Regions from separate parts of the Homo sapiens genome. Here regions 1 and 2 are each linked to region 3. The links are contacts of gene promoters, found by promoter capture Hi-C in blood cells and fetal thymus (Javierre and others, 2016). All regions are on one chromosome and are shown on one strand. The core of a region is centred on a gene start or on the middle of the fragment in contact, and the rest is flanking DNA. Distances in the headings are between cores, read along the strand shown. Region 1 overlaps SERGEF (secretion regulating guanine nucleotide exchange factor). Region 2 overlaps OTOG (otogelin). Region 3 holds the start of MYOD1 (myogenic differentiation 1).

Region 1 (3,979 bases), core at 596-3,095, 210 kb before region 3:
GAAATTTGCTGTTATAGTACAGCTGACTTTTCATTATTATTGTCTTCCTCAGTATTCAACATTTTGTGGTATACTGGAGGAAAATTGCATTTGGATGATAACATTAGACCTAACTTGACATTGAGTTTCATTCCAGGAAAACAGATATTTTAAAATCAAATGTATTATTTTAAAACTTAGTTGGAGTTAAACATTAATGTATAATTCAGTATAGCCTTTATCATCATGAGCACTTTTTATTACATGATTGTCCATGCATTTTAAAATATAATGATGCTCTTTAATTAGGGCCACTGAATTAGTATGCATAAAAACAATCCATTTCTCATTATACTCTCCCTGCTCCCAGCCACCCAGCTTGAAGTTGCTCTGCCTCTCCATTTGTTCCGCATCTCTATTCCCACCCCAATGCAATGACAAACAAGAAAAGATAAATCCAAGCAGTAGCTCTGGGCAGCAACTAAGCTGTGCTGGGTTGATTTCACCACCTGGTGGCAGAGGCTAAGAAATGTTTCAATATTCCTTCATTACCTCCTTTCTCCTTCTATGGCTCCTTTCTCCTCTTAGGGCTGATCCTCCCATCTTTCTTTTTTTATTCAGAGCTCAACAAATTCAACTCTAAGCAGTCTCTTTCTCATATGTGCACACATTTATTTTTCCATCCTTTCAAAAATTCTACCTTCATTTTAAAATTATTGACCCCAGGAACATTTATTGCTCCTTTCCTTCTTACTTGCCATCCTCTTATTTATGAATTTTTTTTAAAAAGTGACCTTAATTATGATTGCTGAGTCTGAGAGATCTGCCAGCGAATGTGTGGGAACACCCTTTGAAGTGATGGGCTCTCAGTTGAAGAAAAGGCCTATATTTGGAAATGAAGCACCACACAGGAAAAGGCCTAGGGCCTTAGGCCGCAGAGGTTTTTGAACACGCGCAGACATTCCCTGTTGCATTAGCAGAGCATTTCTTTCTTTCTTTCTTTTTTATTATACTTAAGTTTTAGGGCACATGTGCACAACGTGCAGGTTTGTTACATATGTATACATGTAGCACAGCATTTCTTTCTCTTCCTTCTCTGACAAAGCTGTTTTTTTTTCCAAAACACCAATATTTAAGATACATTGAAAAACCTGTTCTTACCCAGTTTTATTGCTTTTCTCTTAGGTTTAATTGAAAGCTTAGTTTTCTACTGTTTTTACTGCAAACATGCAGCAGTTTGGATGCTTTAGGGCAGTGACTCTCAAACCTCAGCATGCATCAGAATCACTTGGAGGACTTGTTAAAACACAGATTGCTGGGCGTCACTCCCAGAGTTTCTGATTCAGTAGGTCTGGGAAGGAGCCTGAGAATTTGGTTTCTAACAAGTTCCCAGGTGGTGTTGATACTTAAGGTCTGGGACTATGCTTTGAGAACCACAGCCCCAGTATTAAGTGGTCTTTTATAATGCAGATATTGGGTGATGTTTTGCAGTCCATTCTTTGGCCTAAGTGCTCACAGAAGTCACCTTGTGGCATATGGACTGGGTTCTAGTTTGCCACTTTTTCTTTCACAGCTGGGACCACTTGACCTTTAGGCTGAGACTTTGTCTAAGGACAGTAATTGTGTCTTATTACTGTGGTTCTCCAGCCCTAAGAAGAATGGGTAGGACATATTAAATGGCATTTAGTGAATGTTGGGTATGTGTTTGGATGGAGGTGGTTAGTATTGCAAGGCAGCAGGCCCAGGACATTTGAGTATTATTTGCAGTGTTTCTGTAAGAAAAAGGTTCTGGGTTATGAATGGGCTACCTTACTGTGTGTGGCATTACATGTTTGTGAAGTAGGCATTATATTTTTGCCCCCATGTTCTTTCTGATAGTAGTATGATTTTTATTGCAGGTCAGCAATTCATTATAGATATTGCTGTTATTACAATGGAAACAAAGGAGAAAATTGTTTTCTGGGTAAATTTCATTTGGCAGTTATATTGATTAGTCTTTCTAATACTCTACCTAATCTTATTTAAAATAAGAAAGAATACCTGAAATACAGAAGCAAGTGACAAATAAATGATAGCTGTTTCAGGGAGTGCCTGTGATGATATTATCTAGTAAATTGCAAATGCAGAAGGAACAGGTGCAGTGCTGAATTGGGAGACTAAATAGGCTCAGGAAATACCATATTAGCTCTTCCTTATGACCATTTTTTCTGCAGTGTAATTGAGAGCAGTGTAGCAGACGTCAGCTCAGTGGTGTGCGTGATTGAAGAGTTCTCCTTTTGCCTGCTGATTACAGCTGACTGACATGCAGCTAGCATCTCAGATCTTTCTCACTGTAAGGGCCCTTAGACACTATCCTAGTCTAATCCCTTCGATTTACAGATGGTGAAATGAGACCTGAATAAGGGAAACTCTTGTCCCAAATCACACATCCAGTAGGTGGCAGAGTTTGGACTTGAACCCTGTCATCTGATTCTAGGTGTAGTCCTCCTGTTGTGCTGTGTTGCCTTTAACCTCACTGGTCTAACTAAGCTTACTTGTAGACCTTTGGATTCCATTAAGTTACCTATGGACAGCATAGATGGGGAAGGGAGTTTTGTATGCTTTTGTCTAAATGCTTCAAAAGCCAAAAGGAATGGGCTCAGTCTCTGCCATCTTCTCCCCATGGCTGCAGCCATTGGATCCTCCATCTGTAGGCTTAGTCGTGGGCCTAGTATTGTACCTTGGTCAGACACACTGAAGGAGCTCAAGTTCAAAGCTTGGGAGTCAGTAAGATGTCATCTGGGATGCTATCTTTGACCTTCCCTTATTCCTGTGCCTGAATCCTGTTTTGATAAGTTCTGATAGAATTGGGGCCCTGCCTTGGTGTTGTCAACTCTTTCGTAACTATAGGCAAGTTGGGAAGTGGGTAGGAGGATAACATTTGTTGAGCATCTATTTTGTGCCAGTTACTTTACCCACATCATGTTATTTAATCTTCACTACATCTCTATGAAGTTTTGTCTGTGTTTCACACATGAGGAACTAAGGCTCAGAGAGATTATGGGACTTGCTTAAGGTAACCTAGCTAATGAGTGGTACAGCTGGGGTTCAGATTTGGGTCTGTTGAGCTCCAAATCCTGCACTTATTCCGCTATATCTCTCAGAGCCTGTAGCTTGGCTATAAATCCCAGTTTGTTCATTTGTTCAGTGAATATGTATCGAATCCTACTATATTCTAGCCTCTGTGCTCGTAACTGGAGAGGCAGTCCCCGCTCACATGGAGCTTACCATCTATCTGAGACTATAAAGTAATGATGGATGTGTAGAATGTTAAAAAGGAAATGCTGTAGGAATATAGAGCAGACAAGCCTAATCTAGTCCAGGGTGGGATGGGGGAATAAATCAGGCAAGACCTCTTGGAAGAGGAAACATTTACACAGAGAACTGTGTTGAAGCATGAAACAACCTTGCAAAAGACCTGAAGGAAGGCTAGAGTGGCAGGAACATAGTAAGCAGTAGTAGGCTGATGTTCTGCTGCCTGCCTGCCTAGCACAGCGCCTGGCATATAATGGGAACCCACAAATGTTTGCTGAACAAATGCATGAATGGCTAAAACAATGAATGAATGGCAATGCTGAAAGCTCATTTTGCTTGTTATATAAAAACATAATAAGTTACCTTGGGATGATTCATAGTTCCAAACAGCTTTTTCCTCCAGCTCCTCTTGTCTTTCTGTTGTTTTGGGTTTCCTTGCTATATTTTGAATGTCCACACACGTGTCCTGCCTTTCCTTCACAGCCATGGGGTGTCTTCCTGTCTCAAAGAGAGCAAAAACTGAGCTGCCCTATTATCCTCTTAGTGGCTGCCTTGAGCATGAAGTTTGAAATAGCGTCAGTGATTTGATTTTTTCCTCTGGGGATCTGGCAATTGAAAATAAATGTAGAAAGAGCCCCAAAGGAGTTTTTTCTTGGGGGCATGAGAGATGACAGCACCAGTTATTGGTGCACTTTGACAATGCCGA
Region 2 (3,656 bases), core at 1,157-3,656, 170 kb after region 3:
GACTCCAAGTTCCTTTCTCCCAGACAGGATAGAATATAAACAAACATCTGCTTTATTTTTTTGGTGGGGAGCAGGAACCAAGTGGAAACAGAAGCCAAGAGAGGAGGAAAACTGGGAGTGCAAGAAAAGATGGCGGGCTCCAGCAGCCTTGACCACTTTCCCAGTTTTCCTGGTACAGGGACCCCTAGCCAACCTGGAATTTGGCAACCTTGAACCCAGCAAAATTTCAGGAAAGGGAAACAAAAGTACTGTCTAACTAGCCACAAGACCCATTTACCAACTCTTCATTCACAGGAGAAACCTATAGGCCATCAATTTTACACTCAGCCCCAGAACAATTGCTTGGTCACCCAGTTTCCAGATCTGAAGCAGGAGATGAGGACAGGGAGAAGTGTCATTACAGGAAGACCCCATGACAGCAACAAGAAGTGACAGTGGACAGCAAGGAAAGGAAAGAACAGTGAGGAAGAGATGCAGGAAAGATTTCACAAAGGACCACAGTCTGGGGCATTTTAGTATGGGAGCAAGGGGTCCCCACTCCTCTGGTGGTCCTCCAAGCATCCCTGTTGGCCCAGCAAGATAACTGACATTCACAATGACCCTGTGTCATCAGAAATGGAAGTGTACTCCGAATCTGCTGAGAGGAGGTAGAAACTGTGTATGATCCATTTGGGAAGATTTTGGGAGGGAAAAGTAAGCATGCTTATCATGATAAACTCTCAACTCACTGGAAAACTCTATTTTCCTGAAAGCCTGCTGTCTGGAAATCTGCAATATCTGAGAGTTCCAGGAAAAAAAAAATCATTCTGCAAACCCCACTGGCAAGAAACCCAGTGATCTGCCAGTATGCTTCCGCCCAGATAGTGGAAATTGCTGTTTGTCCCCAGAAAACAATTTCCTTTGGGCTTGAGAAGAGCGGATGCTCACCCATCCACCACCACCAGTGTCAGGGATAGGACAGCTCGATGTGGAAGGTGTTAGAGTTACCTCATGCCTCCATGGGTGACCTCCTTGGCCAGATGGATCTCCTGCTCACCCACAAAGAAGAGGCTGACAGCCCTGGAGCAGGTGTAGGGTGAAGAGCCACACTGCGGGTCATTGTGTACCTGAGTAGGGAGTTCAGAGGCTGGTTTGCAGGCTCCTGCCACAGGCCTGACCCTGAGCTTCACACCTTATTGAGTTTTCACTAATGCCGATGGCTGTCCCCTGCATACCAACTGCCTTTCCTCTGTGATCTCGCTCAGTCCCCATACATCACAGAGGGGAGGCAATGGATTCACAGAGAGGTGAAGTGACTAAGGCCACACACAGAAAACTAGGAAATCCCAGAGCTGGGATTCTAGCCCCGGTCTGGATGGCTCAGATTCCAGGGCTCTTCCCAGTCAATCATGCCATCTCCGTATTTCTGAACTTTTCTCTTTATCCTACCCAGGAAATACCATCAGATTGAAGGCCAACAGACATACTCCACCATCTCACACTCATACAGAACACAAACACACACATCTATACACACCCCATAAATTTCTCCCATGACACTCTCAGTGCACACACTATACACACACTCCCCTTCCCCCATGCCCCTGGCAGGTACAGATTGTAACTTTCCCCTACACCCATCGGCACACATCTCACTCCTGTGCTGCTGTCACACACACACACACACACACACACACATCTCTGCCCCCGCCATTCAGACAGAACCCAGACTTCAAAGGCCATAGACCCAAAGGACGGGGTGGGGTAGAGGGGAGAGCTTCCCAGAGCTTATCCCTGCCAAGTGTGGAAACCCTTCCCAGGAAGGCACCTTCCATCAGATTACTGTTCAATGTGATTAAGCAGGCTGGAGCCACTTCAACTACAAGTGGGAACTGTGAAAGCTACCCCATGGTCTAACTAAAGGGTTTTCAAGCTTTTGTGACCATGACCTACAATAAGAAATATATATAACTAAAAATTTTACAAAATAATACTTATCTCTATCATGCGTAATACACTCTTACAATATTTTCTATTTTATTTGTCTCATTTTTTAATGATGGTTGTGATTCGTTAAGTTGATTTTGTAACCCACGAGTGTATGGCAATGCATTAGTCTAAGTAATTGTAACATATCCATCATGAAATGATAGGTCATGAAAATCTCTGCTATGTGATAGGCCGAGGCAGAGAGAGGAAAATTGGTTGCAGTTCCCCGCCCATCCAGGGCATGGCCCCTAGAGCAGTCTCATAGGTCCATGACTGAGACAGAAGGATCACAAATGGCTAGCAGAGGGGAGACACTGAACACTGGGGTCTCCCCACACCCCCAACCCCTTGACCCTAACTCAGTACTGACCAAGGTGCCCTCCAACAGAGCTGGTTCTCCAAAGAGACTTTCCTCCAGGTGGAGGGGTATTGAGCTGTGGCTGAAGGTGACTCCCAGTTTAGCACACAGGTTAGGCATGAAAATCAGGCCTGCATGACAGTGGCTTTCACACGTGTTCCTATATTTCACAAACCTTTACTGAGCACCAATCCAGGCACTGTCAAAGAGAGAGACATGACCCCTGGCCTAGGAAGCTCACAGCTGGTAGAGAAAACCAACCCAAAACCAGACCTTTGTAAGAGAAATACAATGACAGCGTCATAATATGGAACTTTGAGTTACCCAGTGAGGAGCTCTTCAGCCAGCTTGGAAGGTCAGGAGATCCAGGGTGGCTTCTTAGAGGAGGTGACTCTAAACTGAGTCACCCAGGACCTCCATCATTTCTCTGAGGCCCTAGTCTCTTTCTTAGCACCCAATGATCTTTTTCCCCAGAATGTTCTCAAGTCTGCCCACACTCTCCTACTCTTCACTTGGCTAACTCCAATTTATTCCTTAAACCTCAACTTAAATGTGACTTTCTCCAGGAAGCTTTCCCAGGTCACCATCCTTCCGAATAAACAGGATTAGGTTTTCAGGACATGTTCGTTTAGCATTTGGCATTTCTCCTCCATAGCACTCATTTGCACCTGAAATGAGTCCTCTGATTTGATGTCCTTCTTCATTAGACTATAAGTTCTGAGAAGACAAAGATTATACCTGTGTTGTTGTCTACAGGGCCTCCCGCCACCAGACCTTATGCCAGAAAAGAGTACAGTATGCACTTAGTAAATACTTGATGAATGAGTGGCTCAATAAATGAATGGCCAGGGTGAGTGGGTGAGCGAGAGCTGTGGAGTCCCCAGCTCCTTCCAGGTGCAGACTGCCTGGGTGGGAGCTGGGGGGCGATGCAAGGAGGAAGGTGCCAGTCTCTCTAACTATGACAAGTAGAGCCCAGGCCAGTGCAGCCTCCAGGGCCTAGAGAAGCATTCCTGGACAGGCAAGGCAGGGGAGGCCTCACCTGGATGGAGAAGCTCTGTCCCTCGGGCTCATGGCGACCCACCAGGGTGTAGCTGCCCTTTCCGGAGAGGTAGTAGTAGAGCCCATCAAATGTCTCCACGTGGTGCTGCCCCCACGCCCGGCAAATGCTGTCCCTCTCAGGGCCGGCATTGTACACTGAGGGAGAGAAAAGAGAACCTCTCTGTGTAGCTACAGTGGGCACCAAGCCAGAGGCTGGTGGGTTCCAGCCCTGGAAGTGCTGCTCCCTTTCTCCCTAGCTTTCCCTGCACCCAGGTCCCTTCCTGGGGGTGGG
Region 3 (3,686 bases), core at 963-3,462:
GCTGAACCTAGCCCCTCAAGGTTCAGCTCTGGCCCACCGAGGAACACGGAGCGGCCATCGCAATGGGTCTCCGAGAAGGGTGCTGCGTGGAAAAAACCGCGCTGTGTCCTTGCCCTGTGGGGCGGGGGCGGAAACTTCAGTTCTCCCGCCTCTCCTACCTCAAGAGAGGTCGCTTTTAAAGCGCTGTTGGGAGGGGGGCATTTAAGTTCAATCTTTTGGGCGCGAGGGACCCTAGGGGCACCATCCCTCGGGCGGGTGGGCGGCCACCATCCCCTCAGAGCACCTGGTATATCGGGTTGGGGTTCGCACCCGCAGGGCACTGCGGGGCGGCGTCCGGTGACTGGGTGGGGTCGCCGCTGCTCTCTCCCTCGCTGGGGGCGGCAGCCTCTTGCCTGCGCGGAGGCGACTCAGAAGGCACGTCCGCCAGCAGGAGGGCGGGCGCCGCAGGGCTCTCGGTGGAGATGCGCTCCACGATGCTGGACAGGCAGTCTAGGCTCGACACCGCCGCACTCTTCCCGGGCCTGGGTTCTGCGCGGGGAGGGCTCGGTTAGTAAGCAGGGGTGGGGCCGCGACAAGCCTCCCACCCCCGGGCCCAGTACTTTGAGACAGATTGGAAACTGAGGACTTTAGTTAGAGTCCGGGACAATCCAAAAGACAGGGAGCTACTTGCTTAGTATTTCATCTCCTGCACCACTTCCCAGGACATAGGCGTGTGTGAGTGGGGGTGGGAGCGTCCTAGATAGAGGCCAGGACAGCTCCATGAAGGAGGAGGAGCGAGCAGGGAGAGGCCCGGAATACCCACCGCTGGGCGCCTCGTTGTAGTAGGCGCCTTCGTAGCAGTTCCGCCGCCGGGCGCCGCTCGGGGGGCCGCTGTAGTCCATCTGCAAACAGCAAGGGCGACTGAGTCAGGCCCGCGGGACGGCTCGAGGCCCGAACACCAATTCCTGTAGCCGCCCCCTCCCTAACTCTAGCCTAAGGCTCTAGTTCCGGGCCCAGACCTGTCCTGGTTGGGGGGGTAATTACGGGTGGGTAGGAGATGAGGTCTGCAACATGCAGGGCCAAACCAAGGGCGGACAGTCACCAAGGGGCGCAAATTTACATTTTGGAAGTAGGGATAAGTAGAGAAAAAGATCTTCACGTTCGCGCTGCAGTGTTCTAATAGCGCCCCCAATGGGGCAGCTCGAACGCTTGCCCGCACACTTCCAAAACAGGCTACCCCAGTGACAGCTGCCCAGGACAAGGGGGTCCTCTCTCTCGGGAAGGATCCTGGCCCAAACCTCCCGCAAGGCCAGCTCCCCGCCCTCGGAAACGCGTCCCTGATATCCCGAGCGCCGCCCTAACTTCCTCACTTCCTGGGGTCCCGGCCTTACCATGCCGTCGGAGCAGTTGGAGCGCGGGCTGGACGCGTCGGAGTCGCCGCTGTAGTGCTCGCCGCCGCGGCCCGGGGGCAGCGGGCCCGGCGCATAGAAGGCGGCTGCGGCGCCAGGGGGCGCGGCGTCCTGGTCGCGCAGCAGAGCCTGCAGGCCCTCGATATAGCGGATGGCGTTGCGCAGGATCTCCACCTTGGGCAACCGCTGGTTTGGATTGCTCGACGTGCAGCGCTTGAGTGTCTCAAAGGCCTCATTTACTTTGCTCAGGCGGCGCCGCTCGCGCATGGTGGCGGCCTTGCGGCGGTCGGCGTTGGTGGTCTTGCGCTTGCACGCCTTGCAGGCCCACAGTAGGCAGCGGCCCGCCTGGTGGTGCCCGCTGGGCGCGCGCACATGCTCGTCCTCACGTGCGCCCGGGGCCGGGTGCACCGCCGCGGGGAAGTGCGAGTGCTCTTCGGGTTTCAGGAGCGCGCCCACGTGCATCAGGCGCGGGTCCAGGTCTTCGAAGAAGCGCAGGTCCGGGGAGTCGAAACACGGGTCGTCATAGAAGTCGTCCGTTGTGGCAAAGGAGCAGAGAGAGCCGTCGGGGGCCGTCAGGTCTACGTCGCGGAGCGGTGGCGACAGTAGCTCCATATCCTGGCGGTGGCGCGGCACGGTCCTGGCTTCGCCCAACCCAAGCGGCAGAGAGTGGCCGGAACTTTCTGCCGCTCGGGAGCCCCGGCTGTAGATAGCAAAGTGCTGGCAGTCTGAATGCCCACCCACTGTCCCCCACCCCTCCCTCTCCTGTCCGGCCTGATTTGTGGTTAAGGAAAGCGGCGGCAGCGCCCCAGGGCTTCCTCACCCCTAGCTTCTCGCCAGGCGCCCTGGGCTATTTATCCGTAGTAGCCTAAACGCCCCGGAGCCCAGGCGGGCAGCTGGGGGAGGGGGAGTCCGAGGCCAATAGGAACACTGCGGGGCGGGGCTTGGGGGGGTCCCCGGGGTGGCCGCAGGGGCCCGCAGACTGGCCAGCCAGCCCGCCCCTCCACACTGGCGTGCGCGCTAGGTCCCCTACCGGGCAGGGAGGGAGGGAGCGACCGGCAGCCCTAGGCGGCTGCACTTGGCTCTCCGGCACGCCCTTTCCAAACCTCTCCAACACCCGACTGCTGTATCCGCGGGAAACGCTGGCTGCGCGCGCTCACCTCTGAGCTGACTTTCAATACTCCTCTGTCCCCTGATTTGTGGGGGACCCATGGGTAGAGCGGCTGTAGAAATCAGGTCGTGAGAGATTTGGAGAGAGGCAAGGCATTGGGGGCACAGAGCTGAGGAGTGAGACCGTGAAAGAGGGACCGAAAGAGGCTGAGAGACACGCAGAAAGCAGAAAGCTTAGAGCGTCAGGGGCAGAGAAACGCACGAGTGCAACAACAGGCGGAGAGACCCCGAGAGTTGAAGTGGGCGAGCCCGAGACAAACGGGTCGTAGAGGCTCTGATATTCCGCCAGTCCCCGACCTGGGAGTTGCTCAGCAGGTCGTGGGCCCAGTCCTTCTTCCCTAGACGCTTAGAAACCCAGCTATGGTTGTACAGGAATCGGAGATTGCTGCTAAAGCTTCGCGCCAATCTCTCCAAACTCGGATCCTGCCCAGGTTAGGAATCCCCTCCATCTAAATCTGCACGTTTCCACAGCAGGGGTGTCCAGTGCCATGCCTGGGGTCTAGGCTGAGCTGCCTCTTCAGCTGGGAAGAAAACCCTTCTGCTCGGGGCTTGGCTCCGCCTCACTCGCGGTGCTGAGTCAAGGAAAGTGCATTTCGCCAAGGTGTCAAACTTCAGGACCTGGCCTGAGAACCTGACCTCATCTCACCTGAAGTCTCCGAGAGTGCGGTTTGCAGACCAGTTGAGTGCAGACTCCAGAGTTTCCCAACTGTGTGATTTTGTGGAAGTCATGTCTCCTTCCTGAGCCTCAGTTTCCAGTTATAGATTTGGGGATGACAGTAATTTCTTGGAGTAATTGTGGTGGGGATGACAGTCTGAAGAGACCAAGGATATGGAAGCCCTCAGGCGGTGATGTAGGGTTATTCGAGCAAGGGGCTTTCAGAGTTGGATGCTGTGTCCCGCAGGCTTACAACTCATCTGTGGTACCATGCCCTGACGGAGTGCCACGAGTCTCCAGGCCTTAGCTGTGTCTCTTTCCTGCAGCCTCACTGGAAAGGCTGGAAACAGGAGGAGGCAACCACCCCATGGGATGTGGGATATCTGGCTCCCATACAAGCCTCAGCATACCGGCCACCCCCATGGGGGTCTCTCAGCCTCTTCCTGAATCTGCAGTTCACACAGTCCTCTCAGCAC

Evidence for each region. The method cuts DNA at HindIII sites, captures the fragments that hold promoters and counts their contacts. A CHiCAGO score of 5 or more calls a contact.
Region 1: a contact is called between a fragment that was not itself captured here and the fragment with the promoter of MYOD1 in region 3, in 1 of 17 cell types (fetal thymus). The highest score is 5.0, in fetal thymus.
Region 2: a contact is called between a fragment that was not itself captured here and the fragment with the promoter of MYOD1 in region 3, in 1 of 17 cell types (endothelial precursors). The highest score is 5.1, in endothelial precursors.

Annotation. Positions count from the first base shown.
Region 1 is chr11:17,929,175-17,933,153 of GRCh38, reverse strand. The region is part of intron 9 of SERGEF (secretion regulating guanine nucleotide exchange factor); the gene reads left to right. Among named protein-coding and RNA genes, the nearest start is that of SERGEF, 82 kb to the left of the region's middle. The HindIII fragment of the contact is 1,331 bases long and covers 1,180-2,510 here.
Region 2 is chr11:17,553,229-17,556,884 of GRCh38, reverse strand. OTOG (otogelin) reads right to left here. Exons shown (of 56, transcript NM_001292063.2): 6 at 3,366-3,520; 7 at 988-1,106. Among named protein-coding and RNA genes, the nearest start is that of OTOG, 7.8 kb to the right of the region's middle. The HindIII fragment of the contact is 984 bases long and covers 1,915-2,898 here.
Region 3 is chr11:17,718,097-17,721,782 of GRCh38, reverse strand. MYOD1 (myogenic differentiation 1) reads right to left here and starts at 2,212. Exons shown (of 3, transcript NM_002478.5): 1 at 1,371-2,212; 2 at 803-881; 3 at 1-528. The coding sequence starts at 2,000. The coding sequence ends at 275. RefSeq lists enhancers at 240-751, 752-1,263. The HindIII fragment of the contact is 6,670 bases long and covers 1-2,730 here.